Linked DNA regions of Homo sapiens: regions 2, 3 and 4 are each linked to region 1. The links are contacts of gene promoters, found by promoter capture Hi-C in human tissues and cell types (Jung and others, 2019). All regions are on one chromosome and are shown on one strand. The core of a region is centred on a gene start or on the middle of the fragment in contact, and the rest is flanking DNA. Distances in the headings are between cores, read along the strand shown. Region 1 holds the start of ZFP64 (ZFP64 zinc finger protein). Region 2 overlaps TSHZ2 (teashirt zinc finger homeobox 2). Region 3 overlaps TSHZ2 (teashirt zinc finger homeobox 2). Region 4 overlaps ATP9A (ATPase phospholipid transporting 9A (putative)).

Region 1 (2,887 bases), core at 267-2,766:
ATTCCTTAATGATGGAATAGGACTGACACCCAGAATGAAAGGATTTTCATAACAGATAATGTCACTGGTATGTGGAAAGTGCAAAAGTAACGACATAGACCTTCGTTAGAATCTTGACACTGTCGCTTAACAACAGTGACTTTAAGCGTGGGTTTTCTCATCTGAAAAATGGGAGGAGAGGTTTCTAATCCATGGTTTTTGTTTGTTTTTAATTTCTCCAAGAAAAAACACGGGCTTGTTATGAGAATTAAATGGGATGGTGCTCGTACCAGCACAGTCCCCCCTCCCCGCCAGTCCCCCAGCATGTTACCTGCTGGGTTCTTACTGAGGTACACTATTTAAACATGGACATATCTGAGCCCCACCTAGGAGATACTGAGTCATAACAGGGTGGGGTGGGGAGGATGGTGTTTAGGAAAATCTGTGCTTTTCACAGTAATGCAAGGAATACACCGCCAAGTTTGGGACCCAGTGTCTCCCAAACTGTTAACAGTAGCAGCTAACAAGCTGGGAGCTTACTATGTGCCAGATTTTCTGCAAACCCCTGGTAGATGGGTTCTCAAACTTCATGTGCTTCAGAGTTGCCCAGGCAGCTACGAAGGACAGCGGATCCCCAGCCCCACCCCCGAGATTGAATGGGTGGGGCCCAGAAAGCTGTTTTAAAATACACGCTCTCGCTCCCAGGTGGCTGGTTGCACTCAGTCTCTGGACCACACTTTGGGAAACAATGCACCGGGAGAAACCAGGGACTTGAAAAACGCTGATGTCCTCCTCGGTTAAATAAAAACTGAACCCCAAACCCAAATAAAGCGACCACGGCCCCGTTTTCCATTCAGATCTCCACCCTTAATGAGGAAAAGGCTTTGCAATGAGCCGGCAGGACCTCGTGAGACCTGGTGATTCCCCCAATCTCCAGGCTCTAATTTTGAGCCACTGAGGCAGAAGTTTTCCCATCAGTGTTGCCCCGTTTACCCTAGATTCCTCCCTTTCTCCTGCCCGCCCCAAACTCCGCCTGATGGGGCGGGAATGCCCTTAGGGGGTGGCGATTGTCTGAACGGCGTGCCCTCCCCCACTGTTCCCTTCCAAGGGGTCTCGCAAGGCTGGAGAGCGCCCCCGGTCTTGCGCCAGGTCGGGTGCGCCCCCACCCCAAGCCCACTCCGGCGCCCCCTGCACAGCGCGCCCGCCGCGGTCCCCGAGACGCGGCTCCGAGCCGTCACCCCGATTTCGGGGCCCCGGGCCTGCTGGCTGCGTCGCAGACGTGCTTGGGCCCGGGCCCCGGAGCGCGCACTGGGCCCCGGAGCGCGCACTGCTCCCGGAAAAGCACTTACTTTGCACCGAGCCCGCGAAGCTCTCGCCCTCGCTGCTCGCGTTCATGGCCGCAGACTGGGAGGTCCCCGGCCGGCCGGGATGCCAAAGTGGGGGACGCTGATCTACATGGTGCAAGGACTTTTCCTTTTATTTTTCCACACCCCCCACCCTGCCTTCTCCCAACTCTGCGAGGCGGGGAGGACGGATGTAAAGCAAGCTGCACTTCCGCTGCCTAGAGGGCGCTGGCCGGGCCCGGCGCCCCAACCTGGCTTTGCAGCAGCGGCTCCCCGGGGAAGCGGCGGGCGAATCCCGAGGCCCAGGCCCGCGGAGCCCCCCAACGCCCCCGGGGAGCTGGATGGCCACGCGCGTCCCGGCGTGCTGGGCGACCGCGGGTGGCGAGGGATGCGCCCCTGCCCGCACTCTGCGTTCTCCGCGGACGCGATTGGCCTCCCCGGCTCGGGGCGCCTTTTGCACCTGCAACCCCAGGCGTTGGGCCCCCAGCGCGGCCGTGCAGCAGCGCTGCTCCCGGGACGCCTGGGTGGTTTGCGGGGAGACCCACGTGCGGCTGCCGTTGCGGGGTGGGTGCGCGGGGCGCGGCGAGCTCCGGAGAAACCCAGGTTGGGCGTGAGCGCTGGGCAAATCAGCAAAGCGCTGGGCGGGTCCCTTGCCCCGCTAGGGAGACTGAGAGGACCGCGAAGAGGTGGGGTCGTAGCGCGGAGGGACCCCTGCTCCAGGAGCTGCCAACTTTATCGTGCATCGCAGTCGCCTGAAAGGCTTGTTAGAACACACGCTGTTGGGCCCACCCTAGCGTTTCTGCTTCAGTAGGTCTGGGGCGAGGCGTGAGAACGAGCATTTCTAAGTTCCCAGGTGATGCCCCTAGTGTTGGTCGGCGTCCACACTCTGAGGACAGTGACCTCTCTGCTCTGTCCCTCATGTCTTACTACTACTGTCTCCCCCGGGCTCCTGCGTCAGCCCTATTGTCTCTCTGCCGACCCTCCCAAGCCTCAGACCTCTCCCAGCCTCGAGGGATTTGCCCATAGAGTCTGTCCTGCTTCTGAAGGTCAGCATTCAAATTCACACTCAGGGAGGCCATGCTTGGCCTAATCTAATCATTCTAATATTGCAGCCCCCTCCTCCTCCCCCAACCACTCCCTGTCTCCTTCCTGTTTTTTTCTTTTTCTTTTTCTTTTCTTTTCTTTTCTTTTCTTTTCTTTTCTTTTCTTTTCTTTTCTTTTCTTTTCTTTTCTTTCTTTCTCTCTCTCTGCCTCTCTCTCTTTCTCCCTTTCTTTTTTTAGAGAGGGGGTCTTTCTCTGTCTCTCAGGCTGGAAGAGTGGTCGGATCCTAGCTCATTGCAGCCTCCAACTCCTGGGCTCAAGCAATCCCCCCTACAGGCGTGGGCCACCACCCTGGCTCACTTTTTAATTTTTATTTTTGTAGAGATGTTGCCCAGGCTGGTCTCGAATTCCTGGCCTCAAGCGATCCTCCATCAGCCTCCCAAAGTGCTGGGGTTACAGGTGTAAGCCACCATGCCTGGCCTGCTTTGTCCTTAAAAGGTGTTAGATGGAACATATTATGTATC
Region 2 (2,887 bases), core at 149-2,648, 960 kb after region 1:
CAACAACCACCTGAACCATTGACCTTATAATTCTGAAGATTAACCAGTTAGTATTTATAAAGCATTTGATGTTATTTTTTCAGTTGATGGGAATAGCTACATTTCAGTGGCCTGTAATTCTTAATTCATTGATGTCTTCTTCTTCCATTTTGATGCTAAGGTTGATTTTGTGCCCAATGTATTAATTACATGCTTTTTGTTTTTTATTCTTTGTGATCTCAACTCAGCTTATTACATATTTTTTGTTTCCTCATGTGACTCTCATTATTGGCTTTATACATGGATAAATCTATCTGTCTCTTCTAAATTAACTTTGATCTCTTTTAGTGACAATTGATGGGTGACAACCTTAGATATTATACATGGTGCCTGGAAACTGGGCTCAGCTTTCTTTTCATCCCCTTTTCTTTCAGTAGGTCAAAGAATGTCTTTAATATCTCTGTATAAACTCCATTTTGAAGATTTGTATGTTAACAGTTTTGTGCTATCATCTACAAAAAAGGCATAGACACAAAAGTTTAATTGTAGTCCTACCTTCTTCAATCCAGTCTAGAAACTTAAATGTTCACAAAGATTTAATAATATTGTTTAATGAATACTAATTCAATATTTTTCAAAGCTTTAATAATGTCATGTCATAATATCATTAGAAAAGAAATTTTTGATTGTTGGTTGCCATATCACTGTGGTATTAATGTGATTTGTGTGAGACTAAGATTTCTTTTTGTTTGTTTTAAACCAATATTCAGTTCCATCATATCTATGCATAAGACATGCATAAAATAAGTGGTGGGTCTATTTTGTTTTGTTTTGTTTTGTTTTGAGACAGAGTCTCATTCTGTTGCCCAGTCTGGTGTGCAGTGGTGCCATCTCTGCTCACTGCAACCTCCACCTCCTGGGTTCAAGTGACTCTCCTGCCTCAGCCTCCTGAGTAGTTGGGATTATAGGCATGCACCACCACGCCTGGCTAACTTTTGTATTTTTAGTAGAGCTGGGGTTTCACCATGTTGGTCAGGCTGGTTTGAATTCCTGACCTTGCGATCTGCCCGCCTCAGCCACCTAAAGTGCTGGGATTACAGGCGTGAGCCACCATGCCCGGCCAGTGGGTCTATGTCTTATAACAAGATTTGTGTTGTTGTTACACAGCTTAAAATAGAGGCATTTGCACAAACCTGATAAATACAAATGTGTCTTTTGGAAAGTCTCTAAATTCCTACAGCTAATATTTTCTATATCGTACTATTTAGTGTTTAATTATCTACGAACTTCAATTGATCACATGAATGTTATTTCTCTTTGGGGATTTGATCTCAAATGTCTAGAACAGTGGTTCTCAACTGGGGCAACTTCATTTCTCAGGGCACATTCTGCATTGTCTGGGACACTTTTTATTGAAACAACTAGGGTGGGGAAGCTGTTAGCATCTAGCGTGTAGAGGCGAGAGTTGCTGCTAAGCTTCCCACAGTGCACAGGACACCGCCCACCACACAGAGTGATCCAGCTTCGAACCTCAATAGTGTTGAAGATGAGAAATCCTGCATAGGAAGAATTTTGCTTTCTATTTCTTAATTTCTTGTTCTGGATATAGTACAGGCCTGACACCCTGTAGATGCTCATATTCAATTTGAGAATGTGGCTGAGTTTGCCTATTAAATCAGGACCCCAAGTGGATCTAAGTGCAGTGGTTTTGATTGAAAGAAAAAAAAAGTTTTTGCATTCAATATGTATGGATCATGGGGTGGGGGTTGATACAAAATAGAAAAAATATATAGATAAAGAAAATGAAGACATCTCCCAATCTTTTCTGAGATTGCCATCAACATAAAAGGCAGGTTATTAATCTTCAGGGTACAGTCTTTGTATGGAGGGAATCCCTTGGGGGTTATTGGAAATTTTATTGCTTTTCATTGGACTCAGTGTAAAATGGGGTAATTTAGGCTTAACAAACAAAGCTCGGGTTGACTCACTTTTTTTCAGAGGCTCCAGAAAGAGAATTCTCACAGAGCAGGAATCAACCTTTTCCTCCATAAATCACAGGAGGAGGTGAGAATTTGGCTAATATCCAGAGCACTGCAAAGAAATAAACAATGCAAAGCAATCTGTGGCTTACTTGATGCCAGTTTCTCCGTAGATAAATATTTCTGTGTTTTGATCTTATACATTCTTCCCCCTCAAGCTGAAACTTTTTCTGTCTCTCTTCCAGTCTGTCTGTTAGGCGAGGCCTTGGGAGCAGGATCCTGACAATGTACTGGTCAGCTCTTTTAGGGTTTTTTTTTTTTTTTTAAAGTTGATTTCCTCTGCTGGTGAGCCATACATCACTGACATCCCTGTCTGTGCTGCTTGTCTGTGACAGAATGACAGGTGTCATTTGTCACTGGGGCTTGCGGAAGCTGTGGGAAGAGGGATTGAAATTTTTTTTCTGGAAGGGCTCAGTGTCTGCCAGATCATTAAAAAGGGGGCTTTCCAAAGAAAGCTGTGTGTAATGTGATTGCACTTACTGTCAACGATAGGCTAAAAGAAAGAGAGAACATCAAAAGGGAGTGAGAGAAAGAGGGGGAGGAAAGAGAGGAGGAGTTTCTGCCAGGGGCATTTAAAGTTCTTGAGCTGCCAATGCAAGGATCTGCTTTAGTTCAGTTCTAGTGTGTGCATGCTAAATAAGTCCTTCAGAGATTTCCGCTCAGCTCATGGTGCCAATGAGGAGACCGTAACAGGAAACCTCTTTAATAGCACTTCTTCTCATCACATATTATGTAGGGCATGGAGACAGACTTGGTACTATACAGGGCATGACTTGCAGTCCAATCATTGAAGAGCTGAGGCAGGAAAACCTATTTGAACAAAAGCAGAGGGTCCCAATAAATCACGAGGCAAAACTGAGACCTGCTGG
Region 3 (2,887 bases), core at 106-2,605, 810 kb after region 1:
GTGTGTGTTTGGGAGGGGGTGCTGATATTTTTTTAAATGCAGATGGTTTTGTTCTCTGTAGTTGAAGCTTCAGTTCAGCAGCTCTGAGACAAACAGGAAAGCCTGTGTTATTCTCTACAGGAACACATCAAAGGTAGTTTCTGGCAACAGTCAAAATGTATATCAAGGAAGGAGAAAGGATTCATGACCTGTTTGAACAACTAGTGTTAAAAACACATTCGAGAAGAAATAATGCTAGGTAGAGGATGAAAGGAAAATAGGAGAAAGGAAGACCCCTTGCTTCACTCAGACCTAAAGATGATTGTTTCTCACCATTGCTAGCTTTTTCAAGAATAAGGAAGCGAAAAAATCACCTGTCTCATTTATCATCTGACAGGGGAGCTAAACTCTGCTGGATGAAACTTTTTCTTTTGCCCCAGACTAAATAAAGCCCCACCTCGTCTTCTGTTTCATTTTGAAAGAAAAGAGGTAAAACATGCACAACTAAAACACTTGTTTAAAAGTGTGTGACATTTCAGGAAGGTTTAACGTTACGTATGTCTTCCCTATTGAGTTTCATAAACAGAGTATCATTGTTTGATAGTGGCATAGCTGTGGTTTTGAGAAGGCTTGTCTAGAACGGAGTTCCTGAGCTGCTTGGATGATATTTCACTGCTTTGATGGAGAACGGACTAAAGAACATCATTGTGACCTTTTTATCAAGGCTTAAAGGAAGTATAAAAAGAAAACGGAAGTTGTCAACACTCACCAGGCTCTATTGTGAGGCACACAACCAACCCAGGGAGGAAAATCTAAGGTTGCTTTTGTCACCTTAACTCACATCACTTCATTGTAGTACAAGTGAGAGCCGGAACTTATTGGACACTTACTCTGTGCCACACAGGCTTTGGGTGAATTTTTGCATTTTAATTCTCACCCCAGTAAAGAGACATAATGGTATCCATGTTAGAAATGACAAAGAGGCACACAGTGAAGTCAGGTGACTCGGCCAAGCTTCTGCAGCTGCTTAGAGGCCAGGCTGATCTACCTAGCCAGGGGTACCTGACTTCCAAGCCCGTGCTGTCGACCCTTCTGGTTTAACTCTGAGTAAATTTCATACTTTGTGGAGCGTCCATCAGCCAATCACAATCTAAAAATAATACAAAATGAAAGAAACTGTCATACATTATCTTTTTTTCATCTTCCTAACAAATAAGCTGGCATGATTATTCTTTCCATTACCCTGAAAAATAAACCAAGGCTCAAGGAGAGGTCATGGTCTGCCCCAAACCACAGCCTCCATTCTCTGGCTTGAAATCTTATGCTTTTACCCACCTTTTGATGTTACCTCTTAAGTGATGTTGCCAGAATTAGCAATAAAATAAATTTATAAAAAAGAAAATAAATATTTTTATTTATAAAAAATAAATTTATAAAAAAGAACAGGATGCACAGTTAAATTTGAATTTCAGATAATATAAAAGAATGTTTAGTATAAGGATGTCCAGTACAGTATTTGGGACCTACGGGCAAGCTTTAAAGAACATAAGTTTTATCACATTCTCCAGGTACGACGTGTGTATTAATAAATCAATAGAAGTTTATCTGTGAGCAGTTATCTCAGTTTTTTAATTCCTAAGTCTTCATGTTCTGAAGAAATGGCCATCACCTTGCATTCCCAGGGCCTATTGATTATGAGGCTTCATAAACCTTAGGACTTGAGAGAACAGCTGGGATTCCTTCCCAGTTGCTAACCAATGACTTCATAATGTAATGGACAGCTCTAAATTGTGCTTCTACGTTGTAGACATAATAAGAGACACACTAAAGGACAAATACATTATCTAATAAAGCTGCCTCGAGCTTAAGAGATAACAAAATGTCAAAACTAAATTCTTTTTCTAAGCACTTCCAGTATGAAATTTAGTTCACCGTCCAGGTACTGTCCTTCATTGTGGGGAGAAACATCCTGCCTGTCTACCTGGGGTTCTATTTTATTTCATCAGCCTCCTGTTTTTCTCCAGGGATGGTGTGTGTGTGTGTGTGTGTGTGTGTGTGTGTGTGTGTGTGAAATTTTTTCCTAAATATTAAGTCAGTGCACCTTCCTCGCAAGCGCTGGACAGCTCAGGATCTTATTTTGGAAGCTCGAGGTATGAGCAGGCCTGAGAAAATTGTGGCCCTTCTTTTTACTCCTTCCCTCTGTGAACTTTTGAGAAGATTCCTTAGTGATCGGCTTACACGCTTTCAAACTGGCACGCCTGTAATCTGGTAAAATGTGTCAGCCCTATGGAGAAATAAGCCTTCCAGAAGAGTTTCTTCATTGTTGAGGTAATTGTCTCCTCTCTGACAGGCACATTCATCAGTGGCTTAATGGTCAATCACTAGTTGGCAGGCAGAGTGTTTTCATTCTTCCCTATCCACTACATTAGGCATACTTAATCAAAATGTCTCCGGGTAATGGCTGTGAAGAGTTCATGACTGACTGATCCGTTGTCTGTGCTGATAGAAAATTAACAGCTCAGTGCTGGAAAGATGCGAGCCCACAGATAAACAAATTGTACATTAATATTTCATCTTGGGGACCTGGGATGTGCTGTCCATAGCAAAATATTTCCTGGCTGCACAAGCAATTCTTTCTTTCCTTCTCTTTCCTTCTTTTTTTTCTTTTTCTTTTTTTTTTTAATTATTTCTTTCCGTAAGCTGTGCACACTCATACCACATGGACAGTATGCATCCTGTTCTAGAAGCTTCAGTGTCTGTGGAAAGTTCAGGGGAGTTCATATTCGATGCCCTGTTTTCATCACTGCCAAATGAAAGCAGGCGAAACCCTATAGAGGAGTTGTTTTGTTCTTTCTTTTTCTAGTATAATATCTGTGGGCTGACTGTTGCCTGAGCATGGAACACGCAC
Region 4 (2,887 bases), core at 260-2,759, 520 kb before region 1:
AGGGATGAAGACAAAAGGCCAAAGGTGGCTGGGCGCAGTGCATCATGCCTGTAATCCCAACACTTTGGGAAGCCTTTGGGAGGTGAGGCGATCACTTGAGCCCAGGAGTTCAAGTCCAGCCTGGGCAACACAGTGAGACCTCGTCTCTATAAAAAATAAACCAAATTAGCCAGGTGTGGTGGTGCATACCCAGTGCACACTTGTAGTCCGAGCTACTTGGGAGGCTGAGATGGGAGGATTGCTTGAGCCCAGAAGTTTGAGGCTGCAGTGAGCTGTGATTGCACCACTGCACTCCAGCCTGGGTGACAGAGTGAGACCCTGTTACAAAAGAAGGAAGGGAGGTGGGGGGGGGGGGGGGCGGAAGGGCTGGGAGTGGGCGAGGGGCTGGGGGAGGGGAGGGAGGGTAAGGAAAGGAAGGGAAGAAAGGGAGAAGGAAAAAAAAAAAAAAGGCCGAAGGGGTGATCTAGTGATCGGGTGGGAGCAGGTACTGGAGAAGGGGCAGTGGCTGTCAGCTGGGGTGACGAGGGTACCAGGATGGAGGGCGTGGTGTGCACTAAGACAAGCAGCCCTGGGAGAGAATAGGTTTAGGAGATGAGGGAAGAAAGTCAGGAGGGGTCCCAGGTACAGCATCCTTATGAGCCACATGCAGCAATGCCAAACATTCGGCTACGTTATAATCCAAAGCTCCAGGTCAGGCCTAGAGATGGAGATGGAGACAGAGCCATCAGCATCCACAGAGCGATGGAAGCAGGGTGAGGGGCCATCCGGGGAACAACATAACAGAGTCCAGCACCGAGCCCCAGAGACACCAACCCCAAATCACCACACAGAGGAAGACGGTCAAAGAGACAGAAAGGAAACGGGGGCTGTGCGGCTCATCCTCCCTGTCCAGGGAAGTTCCTCGTGATTTCTTAATAGTGCTAAAGTACATCTTTGAAAAAGGTCCATGGATCCATTTGGAGACCAGCCATGACGCCTCCCCATGGAGCCTGGAACAGCAACAAGGGCTTTGTTGCTGGTTGTAGATGATGACAAGAACTGTGTCAAGTCAGCTGTTCTAACTTAACATCCACTCCCACTGTCACACTGTCCCCTGCTCTGCCATTTTCAGGAGACAGCCTGGAAATCCAGCCCACTGACAAATGTTCCAGAAAATTAAATGTCAGTTATGACCGTATCAAGAAGTATTCAGGGATTCTGCCTTTAACCTGTATACAGAGATAATTCATTCATATTTCTTACTGGTCTTCTGACTATGGGAATGTTCTCTATTTCGACGAATTTAAGCAAAATATGACCTCCTTATTCTCTTGTTATCTCCAAACAAGTGCTGCAACATGGAGCTGGTCTAACGCGGTCTGGCTCAGCCTTGGATGTGCCTCAGAATTAGCAAGGGGTGTGTTTGTCTTACTTTTAAAACCCAAAGCCACGCCCTGCCCTAAGTCTTAATGAGTAAGAATCTCCAGGGTATCAAGCCCAAATAAATGTCTCGTTTTTGTTCTGTGTTGTTTTGAAACTCCACCAGCAATTCTGACACACAGCCAAGATGGGGACCCACCGGTCTAACACTTTAGGAATATTAGGATATTTGCCAGTAATACTTTCTCTGAAAAGTGACTGGTTTTGGGAAACTTGGTAGGAAAAATAAAGGTAGGAACAGATAAACTGCAAGTTATCTCTGATGAACTAATTTCTTCCTCGTGATTGTTGAGTTGAATGTAGATGAGAAACTAAAGGTAATCAGTAACGTCATGATTATTTCACAAGCAGACCATTTGTTATTGGTGCTCCGGGTCATAGCCAGGGAAAGGGAAAACATCAACGTGGTCGTAAACTTGAAGTATAATCAACCAGCAGGTTCCTTCTGGTTCTATTTATTGGGCATATAATTTTCTCACAGGTTTTTCCTAATGTCCATCAGCACTTCAGCAGAGCAGATTAGCCCTGAAGATAGGGAAGATGGGGAAGGACCCCAAATGCAATTTTATTCAAAGTGTAAAGGAAGTGTGGGTGTCATGGGTATAGAAGGGAGGTATTGGGGAGTGACTGCTGATGGGTAGAGGGCTTCTTTTTGGGGTAAACATAAAATCGATTGCAGTGACAGTTGCTCAACTCTGAATATGCTTAAAAAAAAACAATGAATTGTACTCTTGAAATGGGTGAATTGTACGGTATTGTGAATTACATCTCAATATAGCTGTTAAAAAAAAAAAGTCAAAGAATTGTTTTGGGTGTTGAAATGGAAGGCTTTACCTGGGTGTAAATGCTGAAAATGTGGCTTTGTACTTCGTCCATTGAGTCGAGGCCGTAGGCTACTGTTCCGAGATGGAGCCGTTTGAAAATCATCTCGTTCTGGGTAAGAGTGCCTAAAACACAAGACAAATGAGTGGCCGGCCTGTCTCTCAGGATGTTTGTTATTATTAACAGTAATGACAGCTGCCATCTTTGGAGAGTTTGCCCTATGTCACACACTGCAGTCAGTACTGTCCCTGCTGGGGAAGACACCTGCAGCATTTTGCCTGCCTAGAATCCCATTCCCCTTTTGAAAATGGCTTCCTAGCTTTCCCAGGGGAAATTAACCACACCATGCCCATTACCTAAGGTGGCCCAAGAGGACTGTCAATCAGGGGCCTGGCCCATTCCGTTGGCCAAGAGGGTGACAAATGACATACACTAGAGCAATCAGATTCTATCTCGAAGGATTCTGACCCTTGAGTAGAAAGATACATCCCTAATGGCAGAGCCCTACAGAGACCACCTGGAGGGTCCTAATGCTGACTTAACCAGAACTTTCCTGGTGGCTCTCCTTCCAGAAACCTCATTTTTCTCTGATTTGGTGAGCCGCCCAGGATCTTTGCATTAGCTTCCCTTCTACCCCATGGACATT

What was found. The method cuts DNA at HindIII sites, captures the fragments that hold promoters and counts their contacts. A contact is called where the count stands out against the background at its distance.
Region 2: a fragment that was not itself captured here is called in contact with the fragment with the promoter of ZFP64 in region 1 in 1 of the 25 tissues and cell types used here (dorsolateral prefrontal cortex).
Region 3: a contact is called between a fragment that was not itself captured here and the fragment with the promoter of ZFP64 in region 1, in 1 of the 25 tissues and cell types used here (pancreas).
Region 4: a fragment that was not itself captured here is called in contact with the fragment with the promoter of ZFP64 in region 1 in 1 of the 25 tissues and cell types used here (dorsolateral prefrontal cortex).

What each region holds. Positions count from the first base shown.
Region 1 is chr20:52,190,263-52,193,149 of GRCh38, forward strand. It overlaps ZFP64 (ZFP64 zinc finger protein), which reads right to left and starts at 1,517. Exons shown (of 6, transcript NM_018197.3): 1 at 1,329-1,517. The coding sequence starts at 1,374. RefSeq lists enhancers at 372-1,228, 2,269-2,398 and silencers at 989-1,228, 1,589-1,858. The HindIII fragment of the contact is 31,514 bases long and covers 1-2,887 here.
Region 2 is chr20:53,146,913-53,149,799 of GRCh38, forward strand. All of the region lies in intron 1 of TSHZ2 (teashirt zinc finger homeobox 2), which reads left to right. Among named protein-coding and RNA genes, the nearest start is that of TSHZ2, 180 kb to the left of the region's middle. RefSeq lists a silencer at 2,304-2,504. The HindIII fragment of the contact is 3,082 bases long and covers 1-2,887 here.
Region 3 is chr20:53,001,248-53,004,134 of GRCh38, forward strand. All of the region lies in intron 1 of TSHZ2 (teashirt zinc finger homeobox 2), which reads left to right. Among named protein-coding and RNA genes, the nearest start is that of TSHZ2, 30 kb to the left of the region's middle. The HindIII fragment of the contact is 3,150 bases long and covers 1-2,887 here.
Region 4 is chr20:51,667,744-51,670,630 of GRCh38, forward strand. It overlaps ATP9A (ATPase phospholipid transporting 9A (putative)), which reads right to left. Exons shown (of 28, transcript NM_006045.3): 13 at 2,254-2,366. Among named protein-coding and RNA genes, the nearest start is that of ATP9A, 99 kb to the right of the region's middle. The HindIII fragment of the contact is 5,724 bases long and covers 1-2,887 here.